5 separate regions of the Homo sapiens genome follow, and regions 1, 3, 4 and 5 are each linked to region 2. The links are contacts of gene promoters, found by promoter capture Hi-C in blood cells and fetal thymus (Javierre and others, 2016). All regions are on one chromosome and are shown on one strand. The core of a region is centred on a gene start or on the middle of the fragment in contact, and the rest is flanking DNA. Distances in the headings are between cores, read along the strand shown. Region 1 overlaps CRYZ (crystallin zeta). Region 2 holds the start of SRSF11 (serine and arginine rich splicing factor 11). Region 3 overlaps TYW3 (tRNA-yW synthesizing protein 3 homolog). Region 4 overlaps MIER1 (MIER1 transcriptional regulator). Region 5 overlaps DNAJC6 (DnaJ heat shock protein family (Hsp40) member C6).

What was found. Contacts are between HindIII fragments. The CHiCAGO score rates a contact against its expected background, and 5 or more counts as called.
Region 1: a fragment that was not itself captured here is called in contact with the fragment with the promoter of SRSF11 in region 2 in 1 of 17 cell types (non-activated CD4 T cells); the score reaches 5.8 in non-activated CD4 T cells.
Region 3: a contact is called between a fragment that was not itself captured here and the fragment with the promoter of SRSF11 in region 2, in 2 of 17 cell types (total B cells and total CD8 T cells). The highest score is 5.3, in total B cells.
Region 4: a contact is called between a fragment that was not itself captured here and the fragment with the promoter of SRSF11 in region 2, in 4 of 17 cell types (total B cells, total CD4 T cells, monocytes and 1 more). The highest score is 13.0, in total B cells.
Region 5: a contact is called between a fragment that was not itself captured here and the fragment with the promoter of SRSF11 in region 2, in 1 of 17 cell types (non-activated CD4 T cells). The highest score is 5.3, in non-activated CD4 T cells.

What each region holds. Positions count from the first base shown.
Region 1 is chr1:74,712,994-74,715,740 of GRCh38, reverse strand. CRYZ (crystallin zeta) reads left to right here. Exons shown (of 9, transcript NM_001889.4): 5 at 1,111-1,162. Among named protein-coding and RNA genes, the nearest start is that of CRYZ, 19 kb to the left of the region's middle. The HindIII fragment of the contact is 355 bases long and covers 1,198-1,552 here.
Region 2 is chr1:70,220,017-70,222,716 of GRCh38, reverse strand. It overlaps SRSF11 (serine and arginine rich splicing factor 11), which reads right to left and starts at 1,337. Exons shown (of 12, transcript NM_001350605.2): 1 at 878-1,337. The coding sequence starts at 1,080. RefSeq lists a silencer at 953-1,002 and an enhancer at 898-1,443. The HindIII fragment of the contact is 2,724 bases long and covers 1-2,291 here.
Region 3 is chr1:74,737,701-74,740,515 of GRCh38, reverse strand. TYW3 (tRNA-yW synthesizing protein 3 homolog) reads right to left here. Exons shown (of 6, transcript NM_138467.3): 3 at 1,728-1,826. Among named protein-coding and RNA genes, the nearest start is that of TYW3, 6.0 kb to the right of the region's middle. The HindIII fragment of the contact is 226 bases long and covers 1,444-1,669 here.
Region 4 is chr1:66,927,131-66,929,830 of GRCh38, reverse strand. The region is part of intron 2 of MIER1 (MIER1 transcriptional regulator); the gene reads right to left. Among named protein-coding and RNA genes, the nearest start is that of MIER1, 3.5 kb to the right of the region's middle. The HindIII fragment of the contact is 5,334 bases long and covers 1-2,700 here.
Region 5 is chr1:65,411,835-65,414,534 of GRCh38, reverse strand. DNAJC6 (DnaJ heat shock protein family (Hsp40) member C6) reads right to left here. Exons shown (of 19, transcript NM_001256864.2): 19 at 1-1,611. The coding sequence ends at 1,510. Among named protein-coding and RNA genes, the nearest start is that of LEPR, 7.5 kb to the left of the region's middle. RefSeq lists an enhancer at 1,695-1,989. The HindIII fragment of the contact is 2,363 bases long and covers 73-2,435 here.

The DNA.
Region 1 (2,747 bases), core at 126-2,625, 4.5 Mb before region 2:
TTTAGTGTTTGAGGGGCATCTTATAAGAATTTTTGAAAAATTTCTTTGGGAGGTATTTCATATCCCATAGTTTAACACTAGTCATCCTATCCCCTTATGTTTATGTTTTACTTTAACATATTGTCCTCAGTCCCTTCAGCTCTAAGCAAGAGTGTGGGAGAAAGCTTCACTTATTGCTCATTGTTGCCACTTCTCAGCTGTTGGTGCATAGCTGGGAGCAGGACTCTGGTTACTGTTCTCTTTCCCAGGTGGAGCATAATGTTCTATAATGTCTCTGCAGTGTGGCCACCCCACATTGTTTGAGGAAGTAAGAGAGCCTTCCTGAGAGTCAGATCTGGATCTCACAGCATCTGCTGGCTTTTGACATTGGCACCGTCCATCTGGAATAGTGAGGCATCCCCTCATGCCTTGCTGCATGTCCCTTCTTTTCAGTACATACTAGAAAAGTAGTCATGTGAACTGGAAGTAAAAAGAAAATGCCATTTCACCAGAGAATCTGGACATTTCAGGGGGATGACATGGGAATCTTTGTGATAGAATTTATTGCATTTCCTACTCTCTGACCTTTGCTAACTCAGCATTCCTCCCTGAAAGAGTACAAGGCTGGTGCAACCTGATGTTCAGAGACATGGAGAAGAAAAATTTCTTTCTTTCCTTGGGCAAAAAAAATAGCTACTGTGTTTACTTGGACATTACTCTAGACCACAGAATAAAGACTGAGCTATATAATAAACCTGCTTTGAGGCCCTTTCTGTGGGGGATATATGGGAATGAGAGATTCCAGATCCTCCAGGCTCAGCAATTTTACTTCACAACCCACAAGGACTGTAGCCACTCAGAAGTAGCACCACATAGTCATCCCAGTGTCCAGCAGCATAGTGCCTGGAACATAAAGACTCCCAATAAATATTTGTTCAAGGAATAAATGAATTGAAGGCTTTGTTTATTCTGTGGAGCTTAGGGAATATTTGGGGCTGTATGTCAGGTTGCATTTGCTGTTTGTGTAAGTGTTAGCCAGACTAGGGGTAGAAATTCCTTAAGATGATGAAAACACCCGAGATTAATTAGCTTCAAAAAATAAGGTGATGTAACTTATGCTTTCCTTTGCAGTGCCTGTGTGAAAGCTGGAGAGAGTGTTCTGGTTCATGGGGCAAGTGGAGGAGTAAGTATTTTTTTTAATGTATTTTGAAACAAGCTTGGGTTTATGGGTTTCACATTATAGTTCCTTTGGTCATTTTTAAAAGTCAGATTTATAAATAGAGTCAAAGGTGCTTTTTTTCTTTATGTAGTAAAACTTTTGATTTTGGTCTTCTGAAGGTGATGTTTTGTCATTAGTTTAGCATTTCTTGGTTAATAAACTCAACAGAGCACCCCTTCAAAAATATGTTAGATTTTCCACCTGTATTGGGTGTAGACTAAGATAAACTGGCCTTGTTTTTGCCTTCAAGTAGCATATGTTATAAAAATATTTATTTAGAATTTTAAACAGTTCTTTAAGGTTGATATTAATTCCATATTCCCTTAGATAAGGAAACTAAGGCTCATTAAAGCTTACCTATGTTGCCCCAGACAGCACGGTAAAGCCACACTGTGAATTCTTAGTCCTTCTATCTCCCTTCTGCTGCTTGCCTGCTGCACTTTGATGACATCCATGGAGTGCACGTATACAGCCCTGTCCTTAACACCACAACCCATGGCTGAAAATGCTAATGTGGGGGAATGGGGGAGGAGGACTCAGAACTTAAAATAAGCCCTTCAATGAAATCACCCAATGCAGGGCTGTCAGAAACCTCTTCGAGAAACTAGCTGCCAATCTGCCTCTCAGGAGCTTAGAGGGAAAAGTTAGAGCTCTGCAGTTAGAATTTAACAAGAAATCCACATGAACTCTGTCACTGGATGCTTTGGAAATTTTGGAGATAAGATTTTGCATTTTAAAAATAAAAGGCCTGGGGCTAGATGCTTACTTTGAGGAGGCTGTTAACCATTTCAGAGCACTGTGTATTCTGGAGAGTGGATTGAAAGAAGTAACCTATTAAATGGCACATAGTCCCCTGAATAATGAGTGGTATCCTGAAAATGTGAATTTACCTTTAAAAGTGCCCAGGTAATTTCAGTCCTTTTTGTCTCTCTGTTTCTTTAGGTAGATGAATCACGAGGTTTCACACCTAGCTTCCTACACTTCAAATAGATCAATTCTAAAGGATTTCACAGATCAAACAATTTATGAAAAAACACTAGGATTGTCTTTATGGGGCTTGAGACAATATGACAGATATACCTTGTCCAAAACTCCCACTGTTTAACTTCACTGAAGAGGCTATTTTTGGGTTAAATTAAATTTAACCCTAAGTAACTAAAGGGTCTGTCAAACACATACATTTATTTAAATTACCCTGGCTTTCAGAGAGCTAACTTAGTGCTCTGTGCAGAAGGGAAAGATTTCAGTAGGAAGGGGAGAGAAGAGTTTAAAGAAAATCTCTTTATATTCCCTTTACCCTCTTGTAAAAAGCCCAGTTGCTTCACCATGATTTTTTTTTAAGGTAAAATCCACACTGTTCTCTGAGCTGGCTGAGTTTGTTAAATCCTCAGCTGGCAGGGATAGGCTGGTGACCTGGTGTGTGAAGTGCTTCTGATCCTCCCTGTCCTATCAGAGGGAAACAGTACTGGGTTTTGCCTTGCTTCTGTTTGTACTTTCTGTCCTCATTTAATTCGAATTCCTTTGGGATTATGTTGTGTGTTTAAAATGG
Region 2 (2,700 bases), core at 88-2,587:
CTGATAATGACATTTGAATTGTCACTTCTCCACCAATAAGTCTTCCAAAAAGCACAAGACTATTATTATTATTCCAATTGTCTGTTTTAGTAGTACACTTTATCTTACTTCTTAGCTTCTTTGAACTATTTTTTCTTTACAATTCATCCACTTAATATTCTTGCGATAGAAATAATTTTCAAAATAAAAGTGAGACAAAAAGGATAAAAAGTCATACACTCTAATTCAAATTTCAACATTTATAAAAATCCTTCTCAAGAACAACTGTGAAATATCACAAATCTGTATATTATTCAAACAAAGGAAAATCTCTGGTTTATAACCCGTTTTTTGACATTATACAAATTAAGTAATCAGGCTCACACTAAACTAAGCGTCTGTCAAAAAGAATATGATCTTTGAATTATATTGCTGGGCCAGAACCACATAACAGCAATAACAATAAGTGAACAACCTACAAAGTTTAACACCAAATTAACACAGGCATGAATAATTTTGTTACCTTTCTTCCAAGAACGCAAAGAACAAATACTCAGTTTTTTAAAAAAGGGATTTAACCTATATACGACGTACAGACTGCGGTTAGTCTTGCGTTAAGTCCCCAAAGCCAAACGACCACGTTGGCACAATTTAAGGCGGAAAAAAAAAATTTCCCGAGAATAACAGCCAGTGTTTCCTAATTCCAAAAAGCCCTGGCCCTGCCTCTCTGCATTTTTTTGTAGGCCTGGAACACAACCGTCTTAAGTAAATCCACCAGCCACCAGCCACTCAAGCAGCCTGGCCCGGGGAAGCAGCGACAGGGGCCTAAGGAAATTGTGTGTGTTAGGCCCAGGCTGAGGCGGCGTTAGCAGGAACAGTGATGGTGGACGATACTCACTCCGGCGGGAAGAGGCGCAGTTCGTCGATCTTGCCTAGGAAACCGAAGAGAGTCCGCATCTGCTCAGAGCTAGCGCTCGGGGAGACATTAGTCACCTGGATTACCTCGGTGCCGCCGCCTCCGCCGCCACCACCACCTCCGCCACCGGGCCCGCCGCTGGGGCCCGGACCTGCAGTGCTGGGGACGACGGTAGTGTTGCTCATGGCGCTGCTCGGGTTCTCGCTCCTGCTTTAACACATCAAACACACAACAAACAGTGAGAAGGAGGGGGAAGAGGAACCGGATTGCGGGAGAGAGGAGGGTGTCCGATGCTACAGCCTCTGCTACTGCTGCCGATGCCGCCGCCGCCGCCGCCGTTTCTCCGCCCCGCCGCACGCCGCGGGGGAGGGGATGAGAGCGCGCGAGCTCGAGACCACGAGAAAACAAACGGCCGCCCCACCTCGCCTCCAACCACGACACTAGCGGGCCCGAGCTCCCACAATGCTTTGCGGCGCAGGGCGCGTCAGCGTCGGCTCCACCCCGCGCAGGCCCAGCAGCCGTCGCCTGCAGCCCGAGAAATGAGAGGCACCGGGGTCTAGAGAAAGGTGTTATCCACCTTCGTCTCTCGTTTTATTCTTCTTTTTCTTCTCTCTTTTTTTTTTGGAAGAGCGAAGAGGCACGTATAAACTTTTTTTTTAAAAAAAGCATTCATCCTCCTGCAAAAGTCACTTCAGCAACTCTTCTTATTAAATACTGCTCACGATGTCTTTATATACTGATAATCATCTACAGAGCTATCCGATTACTAATGATATTTAAACCCAAGCTAAGATGCCACCCCACCACCACCAGTATAAAATGTCCCGAAATTTTCAATGTACATGAATTTTGGTAACATTAAATCTGTAACTAATTTGTTTTGTCACTAAAACTTTCAGAAAAGATATATTTTAATATTACACTTATTAATAAGCGTTTTGTACATTCATTCACAATGGATGACTTTTTTTTTTGAGACAGAGTCGCCCTGTCGCCCAGGCTGGAGTGCAGTGGCACCATCTTGGCTCGCTGCAACCTCCACTTCCCCTGTTCAAGCCATTCTCCTACCTAGGCCTCGGGAGTAGCTGGGATTACAGGCGCCTGCCACGACGCCAGGCTAAGTTTTGTATTTTTAGTAGACATGGGGTTTCACCATGTTGGCCAGGCTGGTCTCCAACTCCTGACCTCTGGTGATCCACCCGCCTTGGCCTCCCAAAGTTCTGGGATTACAGGCGCGTGAGCCACTGCACCCAGCCAATTCCACAATAGCTGACTTTGGAAACACAGTTTATAGTACTTAAATATATTCAAGTATATATTTCTAAAGAAAATACTGCAATTTCTCAAGAAAAACTTGTTTCACATACATATTCTTGCTTAAAATAATTTTGAAGCTTTTGACTATTAAAAAAATCCTTGCTTTTGTTTTCAACCTCATCTGAACTATTCTCTCAACTGCATCCAGTGTGTAGTCCAGTGACTTGTAGTGCCCCAAACATGACAAAAACCATAATGTCTCTGTGCCGATACACAAGTTATTAATAACATCACTCATCTTATCTGTCATCTTCTGTAGAGCATTCCTTCCCTCACTGCTATGACTTCTGCAAGCTGTTAGGGCTTCCTCTTTTCTGCTAAGTAACAGAAGATACATGTATTTATTATTGACATGTATCACTCAAAGTTGTGAGCTTCCTGGGTCAGTCCAGAACCTGGCACAATGTCTGTCACACAGTCAGTCCCAATGAATGTGCTGGACACACGCACAAATATACCTTAATGACAATGGCATTTAAGACAGTTCA
Region 3 (2,815 bases), core at 307-2,806, 4.5 Mb before region 2:
CAGGATGTGGGTGGGGCCAAATAAGGGAATAAAAACTGTCCACCCGAGCCAGCAGCAGCAACCCACTTGAGTCCCCTTCCAAGCTGCAGAAGCTTTATTCTTTCACTCTTAATAAATCTTGCTGCTGCTCAGTCTTTGGGTCTGCATTACCATTATGAGCTGTTAACACTCACTGTGGAAGTCTGCGGCTTCATTTCTGAAATCAGCAAGACCACGAACCCACTGGGAGGAACAAACAACTCTGGACATGCCACCTTTAAGAGCTGTAACACTCACTGCGAAGGTCTGCAGCTTCACTCCTGAAGTCAGCAAGACCACGAACCCACTGGAAGGAAGAAACTCCGGACACATCTGAACATCTGAAGGAACAAACTCCGGACATACCATCTTTAAGAACTGTCACACTCACTGCGAGGGTCCACGGCTTCATTCTTGAAGTCAGCGAGACCAATAACCCACTGGAAGGAACCAATTCTGGACACACTTCAACTTCAGCACACCCCATCTGGATAAAGGCGACTACCATACAGCTAGGGGCTCCAGCCAGACCTAAGTAGTTATCCTTGATTCCTCTTTCTCCTCCTCCCTCTGGCTGTCCTTCCCCAGACAACCTTACAATTCTGTTGATTCAAATGCTGAAATACATATTGAATCTATTCCTTTCTCACCTGCTTTGGTGCTATCACCTTACACCAACCTATCACCACAAACTACTCCTAACTCGTATCTTTTCACTTACTGCACTCCTTTCTCTATGCTGAAGCAGAACTGAGTTTTTCAGAACAAAAACCTAGAAAGCCACTCTTTGCTTAAAACTGTCCCTTCAATAACTTTTCCCTGAACTCAGAAAGAAATTCAAACTCTTTAATCTGGTCTACAAAGCCTTAAATGACCTGGCCCCAGCCTCCTTCTGGCACCTTCTTTCCACTCTCTAGACCCACTGAAACTTTGTATATACTTTTCCATCTTCATGGAATGTTCATTTCCCAGCTACATGCCTAGCTCTTTCTGTTCCTTTAAGTCTTAGCTTAAAGAAAGCTTTTCAGAGAAGCCTATCTTCAAGTGAGCTGCTTTTTGCACTGTTCTCTATTACCAGGTTGTTTTTTCCTTCGGTAGAACATTTTGCAACTTGCAGTTTGTTTTTTGTTTTTTTGCCAGTTCACTTGTTTGTTTTTGCTGTCTCCTAACTTTGGAAGAGGAACCAAGACAGTCTTTAATCTTGTTCATCACTGTGCCCCTAGTACTTGACACACTGAGACTCAATACATTATTGTTGCTTAAAATGCAATTCAGTTTTATATATAAATATATAAAAGGTATAAAAAGGAGAATCAAGACTAAACAGATGTTTACCTCATGCATGCTCATTTAAATGGGAAAAATGAAATATTCTTTAAAACTCTTAATTTTACATGTAGTTCCACAGTATTTTTTCTTAAAGCTTGGCAAACAAAAACAAACTATAGAATGCTGAAGTAAAATTTATAAATAAAAACGTTAAGAAAGAAAACAGGAAGCATAACCTGGGACTTATATTTTCCTAGCAATGATTAGCTACTCTTTTTTTCTAATATTAAAAATTAATAGATTGAGCAGACCAATAAATAATATATACATAACTAGTTGAATAAGGTAATATCTCATTGATATTTATAGCAGGTTAAAAGCTTAAAATTACATCTACCCACATATCTATAAATTCAAGTACAATTACAACAAAATTTTACCAGAATCTGTGCATCCTGCAATTGTCGACACTGCACATGAAGAACAAATGGTTCAAATTTCAAAGTGGCATCACCATTTGCTTTCTTCAGAGCTACAATCTAAATAAATGAACAGTGGTATCAGATGCAAGTATATGGCCTGTCCTTTGGCGACCCTTTACCCCATACATAACTTCAATTTCTCTTAGAAATTTTCAGAATCACTCAGCATATTTTTTCTGCAGTAACTTTTCCCTCTGCTTTCTTGGTCCTTTTTCACCAAAAATTTATTTGCTTATTTTCTTAAAATTTCTAGTTCTCCCGTAAATCTTCTATACCATTCTTTCCACCTATTAGTGTGCTTTGAAGAAGTAAACTACTACTTTATTTAATTCCATAACGGATTTTTCATTAGGAAATGTAGTATACAAAAACTGTATTAGGATTGTTTAAATTTTTTGTTAGATTGAGATAGAGACAAATGTAATGTGAGAGAAGGGTCCAAACAAAGCCTAACTGCCACCCATGTTCCCAAGAAGCATCCTGTACCAAGCACCAGTGCTTACCAGCAGCACTAGTAAGCTCACAAATAGCAGTGCATGCAAAGAGCTCAGAGCACAGCCAGTGAGTTCCTGTTCCCTCTGTAACAGGCACAGTTGTTGTAACAATTGCAACTTGCAGTTTTTTTGTTTGTTTTTTTTTCCCTGTTCACTTGTTTGTTTTTGCTATCTCCTAACTTTGGGAGAGGAACCTTGGAACTGCTCAGCTACATGAGAACCAATGGCCCCTGAGCACGTTCCTAGCTTTCTGTATTTCAGACCCTATGGGGCAGTGTTCAGGGTCTGGGAGCTACTGCAGCACAAAGTGGGGTACATGCCATCACTCTGCCCTGATCAGCTGTGGAACCAATCTGCTAGCCATGGGGACTGACACATTGCAAAGGGCTAGATCTTGTGTAGTCTCTTCCCTCCTGCTATAAGCAAATGTTACAACACTTGAGCCTAGTATGCGTGTTTTTTGTTAGTGACCTTGAGTCAGGTACTAGTCTCTTCCCTAGGTAGCACTTGCCTGCCTTTTAACCTTGGCTGCACCCATGTTACAGTGTATCC
Region 4 (2,700 bases), core at 116-2,615, 3.3 Mb after region 2:
CTTGACAAATATTTCTCCATCAGTAGATTCCCGACAGGAAATGTAAAATTCTATATCCCCAAATCTCTAGAGAGGTCAGAGCAAAAATTAATGGAAGGGGTTATGATAGGCAGTCCGCCATCCTCATGTCATTTGCGTTTTCTCACACACTTCTGTCATGCCGGTAGCAACACAGTTATGTACTGAATTTTGCACAACTAGACAAAATTTAAAATACTGAAAATTGACTGTTTTATGGATATCATCTATTTAGTAGCATGGAGGGAGAACCTACTTATTTGCAATGCCTGAAATGCCTGTAACTTGAAAGTTTATTTTAATGTATTGGCCTACAGCTGCCAATTGGCCGTGATGCCAATGCTGATGATGGCCAGAACCAATGATTTCAAAGTAACTAACATGTTTCACTTCCATTATACTAAGGCACATACTGAATAACACAAAGGTGACATTAAAACAGTCACTAACATATTTTACTAAACCAGTTTGAAAGTCTTTATTTCAAAAGACTGGGATTTTTTTCCTAATCTTCAAGGGTTCCTCTTAATGCAGTTTCAAAAGTGGCTACCAAAATCAACCATTTAAATACGAGAATTATTCATTCCTTCCAAATAATGTGAACCAATACTACATTGCATAAATGTGTACATATACAATTTTTCTTAAAGTTAATACTTAACTTATAATGCAATATAGGGGAGGCTATTAAATTATTTATATTCCCTTAAAATTCTAGACTCTATCAAGCATTTTCCTATTTCCAAAGATTCAATGTTAATTTGAAACTGTTATGTCCAATAATAATCTGTGCATGAATAAACTGCATTTACAGATATATGAAGTAGCTGCTAAGTGAAAGGACATTACCTGGTAATTTGACAGGAAAAGAGTCCACAGACAGTCTGTAAACCAATTAAACATAAACATCTGATGCACATTTTCTACTGAAAGAAAAGCAAGGGAAAGAAGAGAAAGGAAAACTTTAAGGTTCCCAAATCTACAAACAATTTTTACCATTAACTGTACTGTACAGTATTTTCATTTTATTTTTTAGAAAACTTATATAAAAGTGTTTTTCAGGATTCCTTGGGGGAATAAATATTTTAGCAGAGGTATATAGTTTCTAATAGTTACCCTGTTGAATTATGTCAATCCTCTGGACTTGAAATAAAAATGACTTTTTAAAAGTGTCAGTTCATATCCAAATAGTTTTCAATCAATACACTTAATGAAAAGAGCTGAAGGCAAAGAACAATGGATATACATGGACCTGAGGTGGGTACAGACACAATTAGGGGCCTAGAGGTACAAACTCAGGCTTTATACCATGGAGATGAAGGAGGGTTTTCCATTAACATATGAAAGCTAATTTATGAAATTTGGCTACCAAAGGAAAATTAAAAGTGTTACAATACAAGGTACAGAAATAACTTGCTTAAGTACACTGAATCTTTGATTCTTCAGTTAAACTACCAACAGAAATCCCAACTATGATAAAGAGCAGGGGATCATAGTCTATTAACCTACTGAATGAATCCTAAACTTGTCAGGAAAATGGAAGTCTGAAACATTTCTGAATGGGTATCTATCTTACTGTTAAATAACTCTTTAAGTTTATTAATATTGTGTATCAATATTACTAGTTTTAAATGGTATTATTATTATTGAGGGAAAAAAACTCTCTACATTTTTCCCCTTCCCCTTTTTATAAATGTGGATTCAGTGGGTTTTTTAGGTTCAGATATTATAAAAAAGAAACAGCTCTAATACTGCAATTCATAGGTAACACATTACCACTGAATTCAGTATCCTTCCACTATTATTTTATTTTAGTGATACACCTAACTGTAAAATTTTCAGGAGCCACCTTACGGAATGAAAAGTCTTTCTCAAAACGCTTACTTACCCTCTTCAGTATTAAATATATAAAAATTAACTATTCACTAGTTATAGAATTTTAGTGTTGGATGGGACCTTAGAGATCTTTTAGTCAATTCTCTACCCTGTCAAGATAGTAATCTCTCATCATGCTTCTACTACCAGGCTTTCTGCCTATGTTTAAACCCCTCCAGTGACTCACTATATCTCATAAAAAGGCTGCTCTTTTCAAAAAAAGTTCAAATGTTTAAAACATTCTTTCTTTTATTATGCCAGAATCTACCTCCTTGTTGTTTCCATCCATTACCCTTAGTTCTTCAGCACTTTGGATTAATTCAACAGATATCTTCTTTGTATCCAAATGCAAACAGTTAATATTTATACTTGGGTTAACAAAAAAAAATTTATTTTTAAAGCCTATTCATACTAGAAGAGTTGAAAATAGGACATGAGAGAGCTAAAGGCATAAGAAAATGCACCATTAATTGTGTCTGCTTAAAATTATTACACTTTGTTATTTATTAATGTGATATCCAAAACAGTAGTTCTGTTGGAATTGTGTATAAAATTTTTAAACTAAAAAAGTGTGCTGAATTCCAATTTTATGTGAGGTTTGTGATTAATGTCCCAAAACAAAAAACCACTATACAAAGCCTGAATAAATGCCTCTTCAGCTCCTATTCCCCACCTAAAAGCCTCCTTATTTTCAGGCAAAGTAACATTAATTTTTATGACATTAAGCTACTCAAAACTGCTATTATATTGATAAATCATTTGTAAGCAATTTACTGAATCTTCCATTCAAAAGTTATTGAACAATTC
Region 5 (2,700 bases), core at 5-2,504, 4.8 Mb after region 2:
GTATAGCTTGCCACAAGAAAGTTAAAACAAAAACAAAAAATGATTGTCTTTTCAAAACAACTTTTAAAAGCTTTTCACAATATTGAGCATGAACCTTTGAAGATTAGCATGAAAATCTTTTTGCCCATCTGCTTTGTGGATATATTTAATATATATGTATAATGCACATTGTATATGTGCACACAAAAGAGATCTACTAAAGTCACAGAATAGCAAACTGCTTACCCCTTAAAATGAGAACCAGCCAACACACTGATCTGAATCCAGCCAGTCTGAGATCGGGAAAGCATTCATTCTTGCTTTGCTTTCACAAATGTCCCTGTATGAATGTCGTTCCTGTGGATCCCCAACCACTTTTAAAACAAAAAAGCCCACTGTAATAATTTAATGGGTCTAGATTTGCCTTGTGGGGAGGTGGGACCTGGTTCCTCAGAGCAGATACTGACAAGCCATCTGACTGGGTCTGCAGGTGAGTGCAGCTCTCTCACTGTGATCGTGCCATTCCCTTAACTCCTATTCAGTGTTGCCTTCCATTCTCTTACCACAACTGCTCACAAACCTAGAGAACACTGAGTCCACACTAGATATTGGTCCTGATAAGTTGTGAACAGGCCAAACTACTTTACCACCTGTTTCCAACTAAGAATGTTTTCTTGGCTAAACAAAAGAAGAGCATTAAGCCTTACAGCAAAATTAGATGTTTCATTTAAACCAGGTTTAGAGTTGTTATAGTAGTAAGACTTTTTATTTAATTAATCACAGTTTTCTAAAGGGAAAGAAGGGTAGCGGCCCACCTTCCTAACCAGGAATAAAGATTTCGACATCTTCAGAGTCCCTATTTTCTTTAGCCACCATTTTCATTCATTTTTAGCTTAGTCAGAAAGTTGGTGGTAATCACTGGACTGTAGTTTAATCACTGGACTATTATCACTCCCCACATTTCAAGTTCCTTTATATTTGTTAGTTCTCTTGACCAAAAGACATTTACAGTATTATGCTAAAGGCCTTAGTAAATTTTTACTTAAAAAAAAATACCTGGTGGTTTTGTTCTTGGAGTCTGCATAAAGCCACTGCTCAAATTATATCTTTCCAAGAAAAATCTAGAAACCATTAAACCATCATATAACTCTATTATCATAACTTTTGCTCATTAATCCTATTCTCAGACAATGTGATGGGTGTTATGCCTTCATGGGTGGTGGCCTCTGTTTTCCATTTCCCCAGGTAGAATGCTGAGTAGGCTCCCCAAAGGGCAGGGTGGAATGCGGTGGTTCTGCAAGGTCATCTGACTAGAAGTTCCTCTCATGCTTTGGATCTTTTATGGTGGGAACTTTGGAGAAACCAAACATCCACATTCCTTATCAATGAGAAATTAATTCATGAGTAACTTAACGGTTTAGTACTGAAAACATGTTACTGGAGTTTTTGGTTCATCTGCGAAAACCTCAGAATTGTGACACACACTAAGCATTAGCACAGGTCTGCAGCAGAGATGGAAAAGCTCATAAATTAATATAAGGGCTTTTGGCCTTGGTTTTCAAATTCAGACCAGGCATCATTGAGCTCCATGAAAATCATCTTTGCGTATTGTTCATAGGGTTGCCCAGTAGCCTGTAGAGAAAACAAAAACACACATTAGATACCACAGACCAAAATTTCATTAATATTAAATTTTTCACTGCCAATATATGGGCTCTAAGCAATGGAAATGTTTTTCTATTTGGCCATTTCTCCTTTTCAGCCTAATCTACTATATCTGACCCAAATTACTATAACCTCCCCATAATGACCTCCCCCTAGAAATGCACAAGGGTAGTAGTAATCCATCAAGAAGTAGACAACAGAGAGCTTATCAGGCAGCACAAGACGTATCTCTGTTCTCCAGACGTATCTGCCAAATGACAAAGGTTCATGACAGCCCATCTCTATTGACTGTTTTTAACTCCCATTTTCCCATTTCTAAAAAGTTCTTTGAGAGTCATAATGGGGAATACAGTTTGTGGATTTTTCTGGGCTCTTGTTTCTCCTTCTCTTTTGATTCATCAAAATTCAAGCACTACCATTGCTTCTCATTAATTCTTCTTTTCAGACTAGTACAAAAAAATGTGGAGAGATGAAAATCATATGCATCAAATTCAAGCCTGTGTTCCCAAGTGGCACTTCGATCATAGCTTCATGTCATATGACTGGTATAGTCTATGTGACAGCAAGATGACTCACTTCTTGCTGAATGTTTCTATGTATTATATGATGATTTCATTTGTCCATGAGTTACTTGAAGTTTCTGACAAGGTAGAGCCCTTAGATGTATATATACTTCAATGAAAACATAAACTGACATAATCAATGTAGTAATAATCAAGAGAGGGCAAATTTAATTCCATTCTGAATATTTTATTGATTCTCACAAATTTTACCAACTACATTCTGAAGCTTTTTCATTACCATCCTAGCTAACTATACTGCTGTATCTCTAAAGGAAAGGAGTTTTCTTCTGTCCAGCTCTTAGCCTGTCCTTACTATTGTAAGCCAGGACACAATTTACTTTTTCTTTTCTTTTTTTGGAGACAGGGTCTCACTCTGTTGCCCAGGCTGGAGTACAGTGGAGCGATCTCAGCTCACTGCAGCCTTGATCACCCAGGCTCAAGTGATCCTCCTACCTCAACCTCCCGAGTGGCTAAGACTACAGGCTTATGCCAC